2 separate regions of the Homo sapiens genome follow, and region 2 is linked to region 1. The links are contacts of gene promoters, found by promoter capture Hi-C in human tissues and cell types (Jung and others, 2019). All regions are on one chromosome and are shown on one strand. Each heading gives the region's core, a stretch centred on a gene start or on the middle of the fragment in contact. The rest is flanking DNA. Distances are from core to core; before and after follow the strand shown. Region 1 holds the start of PC (pyruvate carboxylase). Region 2 holds the start of RIN1 (Ras and Rab interactor 1).

Region 1 (2,756 bases), core at 176-2,675:
GCCCACGCTGTCTCTCGGCCCAGTGTAGGGATAGGAACACTGTAGGTGTGCAAAAGAATGTGATTAAGAGTTCAACAGTTAAGGAGAGCCTGCAGGCAGGAAGCTGTAGCTGCAAGTGAGAGAAATGCTGAGCACATCCACCCCCAGCACAAGTGTTTGCATCACATACAGGGAAAGGGTGCCTTGGGGGAGGCCAGCCAGGGCTGATGGTGGCAGTGGGTACGGGAGCAATAGGGAGGCAGATGGCAGGCACTCTGGAGGTTCTGGTTGTCATCAGCAAGTGTTGGTACTTCTCTGAGCCTGTTTTCTCAGCTGGAGAACGGGTAAGGAGCCCAGGCCTACCTCTTCTCACAAAATAAAGACACAATCTGATTTTTTAGAATTTCAGACGAGGCACGCCTGTAATCTCAGCACTTTGGGAAGCCAGGGCAGGCCGCTCGCTTGAGCGTAGGAGTTCGAGACCAGCCTGGGCAACATGACGGAACCTCGTCTCTACCAAAAAATACAAAAATTAGCTAGGCGTGGTGGCGCCCGCCTGTAGTCCCAGCACTGGGGGACTGTGGCAGGAGGGTCGCTTGAGCCCGGGAGGTCGAGACTGCAGTGAGCCGAGATCGCGCCACTGCACTCCAGCCTGGGTGGGTGACAGCAAGACCCTGTCTAAAAAAGAAAAGAAAACAAAAGAATCTCAAAGTTGCCAGGGACCTAGGGACTTGGCTTCCGACTCTGATGCGCTTTGTAAACTACTAAAAGCTGGAGAAATAAGGGGCTGAGCCCAGCCCCACCTCCTGAATGAGCGGCCTTGGGCGAATCACTGCGTCTGGGCGCCTGGAGCTTCCCCGTCTGAAACAAAGTAGAGGATCCTACGGGAGGCGGAGTGCGAGAGCAAGGAACAAGGAAAGCCCTCGCCTTACACGCCGCGGCTTCCTGCAGAGCTGAGCCACATCCAGTACGATGGGGACAACTTGGGCTCCCGATCCTGACAGACTTGGGTTCGAACCCTCAGGGACCTCGCGCGAGGCGCTTTAGTCAGTTTCTCCATCTGCAAAATGGGCCCGAGAGCAAGAATGAGGCAGCCCGCAGGCGGACGCTGCGGAGGGGCGCTCGGGGGCTGCAGCCGGGGGCGGGTCCGGGGGCGGGTCCAGCCGGCCGAGCCCCCGCGCGAGGGGGAGGGGCGCCGTCCGCTGCGTCGCGTCGCGCACCGCGCACAGCCCGTCGCTGTCTCCTCCAGCCGTCACTCGCGGAGCCCGCGCCGCCTTTGCGCGCGCGACCCTTACATAAGCGTCCCTCGCAGCGGTGCCGGCGCACGTCCACCCGCTCCGACCCGCCGCGGGAAGAGGACCGTGCGGAGCGCGGCGGACACTCACCTCCTCGCCGTCGCCAGTCCTCGCCGCCGCCTCTACCGCTGCTGCCTCCACTGACAGAGAACAGCTGCGGTCTCCGTGCAACCGAACTTGCTGCAGTCCCGGCCCCGCCTTACGGACTTCCTATTGGCCCAGACAGCCCAACCCCTCCCGTTATTGGGCAGTGTTCTCCGTCACTCCTCGCCCCTAGGCTCTGGACTCCTCCCTGTGCCCGCCTGTCCGTCACGTTTAAGCCTTGGCGCCCCACGTCAGCCCCGCCCCTCCCGTCCCCGGCGAGCGCCTGGATAAGTGGCGAGGCTGGGAGAGCCCGCCCCTGGCGCACCACCGCCTACTCCCTTGTCTCCGGAGCCTCACGTGGGCCGCCGGACCCTAGCCGACGCCCGCAATAGGCGGAAGTGGCCGGGCTGTGGCTCGCAGTTATTGGCTGTCGGCGGGGGTGGGGACGTTCGATTCATTCACCCGAGTAGCACGTGTCTCCCGAAGCTGCAAGCACAACAGTTCGCACTGGGGCTCAGGCATCCCGGCTAGACGCAGATACGCGCTGGCTAGCGGAGAAGAGGTCGCAGGAAAAGCTAACGTTAGCGAAGGGCAGGAGGAAGGAGAAGGCGCTTGTGCCACACGGGTTACATGACTATGTCCTTTAACAGCTGCGTAGATGATGATGGGGGTCTACAGTACGTCTGTGTGACCTTGGGCAAGCAACTTAACCTCTGAGTCTCGGTTTTGTCATCTGCAGAGCGAAGCTACTCAGGACCTAGGGGGTTTGGAAGCCTTGTTTGAGACACAAGACACTTGACAAGACCCAAGACACTTGTCAAAGAGGAAAGCTTTGACAAGTGGAACAAGTGACTGAGGCATAAGTCTCTGTCATCGAGGCTTATTAATCCAGTTTGAGGGCGTGCTCGGGAAAAACACGAACCACAGACACATCCGTGGTTGTTTTTCCGAAGAGGTTTTCGGGAGGTTTAGTATTTATGCATTTCCTTAAAGGGGGAATGAGGGGAAGGCATGTAGGAAGAAGGGCAAGTAGGCGATTAGGACAATAGTTACATTCCTATGGGACTTTAGCTAATGCCCGGTAAATCTACGTAAGATGAGATGAATGTCTGAAGAGAAAAAGAGAGTAAAGGAAGAGTCAGTTATGCAGATGTCTCTGAGTAGGTAGTTTTGACTTTGTTCTGCACCTGGGAAAATAAGCTTGTAATGACATTCTTATTGTGGAATTTTTAGGAGCTAGACTTAGATTGTAGACCTGAAGCTACAATTGACCTGTCCTTGTTTATGGGAGGCCAGCAAGAATTTACTTGTGAATGATCTGTGGGGGCAGCCCTTCCCAAATGCCTGAGGTTTTTACCTTTCCGTGTGGATATGGCTGATGCCTAATGCTAGTAACAG
Region 2 (2,756 bases), core at 257-2,756, 620 kb before region 1:
TCTCCCTCCGTAGCAGCTGGCAAGGGGGCAGCCGCTCTGTCTGGCTGGGGACTGCCCCTGGCAGCACGGGGACGGGGGGAGGTGGCACGGCAGGTGGAGACAGGGGGCTGGAGGTCTCTGTGGACACGCGCACTTTGAAGCTTCTCTTGAATTTCTCCCGCTTGGTGGGCCCTAGGTCCCCCGGGAACAGGGGGTTGAAGAAGCACAAGGCGGCTCCGGTGCCCTGGTCCAGCTCTTGAGGGGACCGGGCCTTCAGCTGGGGCAACACTGGGCCTCCAGCCGGGCCCCGCTGAGCCTTGATGTTGAGGGAGGAGCTCCAGAACTCTAGGGAACAAGAAACCGACTGGGGCCTCCGGGACTGGTTAGGGGAAGTTTCCCAACCAAGGCAAGGCAGGGGCTTCGGGCGGTGTGCTGCGAGCCTTGCCTTCCCCTCGGCCTCAGCTTGTTCATCTGTGCAATGGGTGGCAGGAAGCCCTTACCAATGCCCAGATGGGAGATGGCCTCCAGCTCTTTGTGAGTGGCTGCGTGGTGGATGGCTCTGGGGAGCTGCAGCGGGAGGAGAAGGATGTCCCTGAGGCCAGAGAGGGGAGCAGAAGGGAGTGAGGGCCGAAGAGGGCGGGAAGGATGGGCTGTCCCAAGGAGCAGGGCCCGTGGACACCAGGCACCCTGCGGGCAGACTCACCGGGTGTGGCAGTAGGCACAGATGAGCTGGACTAGGTCTGGGAACATGAGCTCCGAGCCCTCCAAGGAGACGCCTGAGAGAGGAGGGAAGTGAGGTGCTTCTCTGGGGAACCTCCCTGCTTCCAGCCCCTTCCCGCCAGGCCAGCCCCTCACCGCCAGGGCTCTCCAGGATGTAGTGGCTGGAGACGAAGGAGGGGCCACTGGCTTCAGGCAACCGCATGCACAGGGCCTGGCACTGGCGGGTGTTAGATTTCCGCACGAGGAACGTCTGCAAGTGGATAGGGCTCAGGCAGCTCAGGACCTTGGCGTCCCATCCCTCTCCCTCCCACCCCTGGCTGGCCAGTCCCTGGAGTGTGGGGCAAGACTCACCCCCGGGGGCTCGGTCCTCAGCATGTGCAGTGCGGCCGCTGCGTTGGCTTGCAGCTGCAGCCACACGGGCCGGGTGAGCAGCAGGCGCTCCCGCAGGCTCACAACGCGCCCCGGCCGCTGCGGCCCGCCTGCCTGCCCGCCGCTGGCATTGGGCACGTCATACAGTGGGTCCTGGGCTGGCCTGGGGGCAGGCACCCAGATCTGAGCAGGGAGCCAGGGGCTGGGACCCTTGCTCTCCTCTTCCCCACTCCCGGGTTTCCCACTTTCTCTATCCCCGGATAGGCCCTCCTCTCGCAGCCCCTCCCTGCCCCACCTGGCTGCCCTGCCAACTTCACTAACTTTTCTCTCGCCAGGTGCCCAGTAGTGAAGCTGGACGGGCTGGGGGCTCCAGGAGAGCCCGCGCCTGACTCTCCAGGGCTTTCCATGGCTGGGAGCTCCTTCGCTTCAGGAAGAGAATCCAGTCCCAAGGCAAGGCACGCACATCCCCAGTGAGTAACACTTCCTGAGGGCGGTCCGCCTGTCACACCCGCCAGTTAACTCTTGTGTGTCCACCCTGCCTGGCCAGTGCCCGCCTCCTCTGTTCTGGACCCTGCTTTGGGGGTCAGGGGTCCCCTCCATGCTAGCCCTGCTCTGAGGGCCCCAGCTGGGGGATGCCACCTCCACACACGGCCTCCTGCAGCCTCACCAGCTACTCACATTGCACACGTGGGCGGGAAGTGGTTAAGCGGCCTCAGTCCCCACAGGCCCCAGCCATGCTCTGGGGGCACCTTTGGCTCTGTGGTCAGTTGCTCATCTGCCCCTGGCCTCAGGTCAGCCTTGTGGGAGAGCACCCTCTACTGTCCATAGATGACTCATTCCTGAACCTGGGTTTTAGGATTTTAGGTTGCCATGGAGAAAATATGCCATGTCTCCATGGAAACCAACCTATTTGCTTAACTGAGGTTCTGGGGGTGGTTCTGACACTCAGTGCTAACCAGGGGGAGTCTGGCTGTGAGGTCGTCAGCACATGGCGGTGCTGCCGGCTGCCTCCCACGCACGCAGGCTCTGCCAGCCTGCCTTGCCAATCTGCCAGGCAACTGGGACAGGTGCAGACATGACCCAGGCTCCAAGCACACGCATCCACCCTCCCCGCCGAGGCACTCTCCCGGTGCCATATGTTGACTCTGCCCAGCGCCAGGCAGCCCAGCGCCCACCTCCCCCTCCCCAGCCTGGCCCCACGCACAGTGCTCTAGCCTCTGCTGGGTAGTGTGAGGAGTGGCAATCTGCAGGCACCCTAGAAGTCGGCCTGGTTCAGGTGCTCCCCACGGGAGCCCTGATTCTCTTGCAAGGTAAATCACACACACACACAGGGCACGCCAGAGTCCCAGGAAAGGTTTTAATTCCAGTCCTTGGAATCTGAGAAGCAGACACCAAGAACTGCCCTGAGAACACCTGGGGGGCCTGGCATCTTGCCTCCAGATCCAGCCAGGGTGGACAGACCCCCAGATAATCACGTCTGACTCAGAGTTCCCGCACAGTGGAAACTGGCTCCCTGGCCCTGAGGCCGGACAGCCTGCATCCAACATCAGCAAGAGGATGTGGCTTTGACTTCGGCTGTCTTCTCTGTCAGGGGAGCCCCAAGAGATGGATCTTCAGGAGTGGGAGGTGGCAGGCGGCTCAGGGATGGAGACAGCAGCCTTGCCTGGTCAGGTCAGCTCCACGGCCAC

What was found. Contacts are between HindIII fragments. The study calls those that stand out against the background at their distance.
Region 2: the fragment with the promoter of RIN1 here is called in contact with the fragment with the promoter of PC in region 1 in 1 of the 25 tissues and cell types used here (bladder).

The regions. Positions count from the first base shown.
Region 1 is chr11:66,956,958-66,959,713 of GRCh38, forward strand. PC (pyruvate carboxylase) reads right to left here and starts at 1,426. Exons shown (of 23, transcript NM_001040716.2): 1 at 1,365-1,426. RefSeq lists enhancers at 1-220, 1,384-1,433 and silencers at 1,084-1,183, 1,504-1,863. The HindIII fragment of the contact is 6,851 bases long and covers 1-2,373 here.
Region 2 is chr11:66,334,928-66,337,683 of GRCh38, forward strand. It overlaps RIN1 (Ras and Rab interactor 1), which reads right to left and starts at 1,507. Exons shown (of 10, transcript NM_004292.3): 1 at 1,390-1,507; 2 at 1,051-1,231; 3 at 835-949; 4 at 683-755; 5 at 480-571; 6 at 1-324. The coding sequence starts at 1,475. It overlaps BRMS1 (BRMS1 transcriptional repressor and anoikis regulator), which reads right to left. Exons shown (of 10, transcript NM_015399.4): 10 at 2,412-2,756. RefSeq lists an enhancer at 1,987-2,756. The HindIII fragment of the contact is 7,337 bases long and covers 1-2,756 here.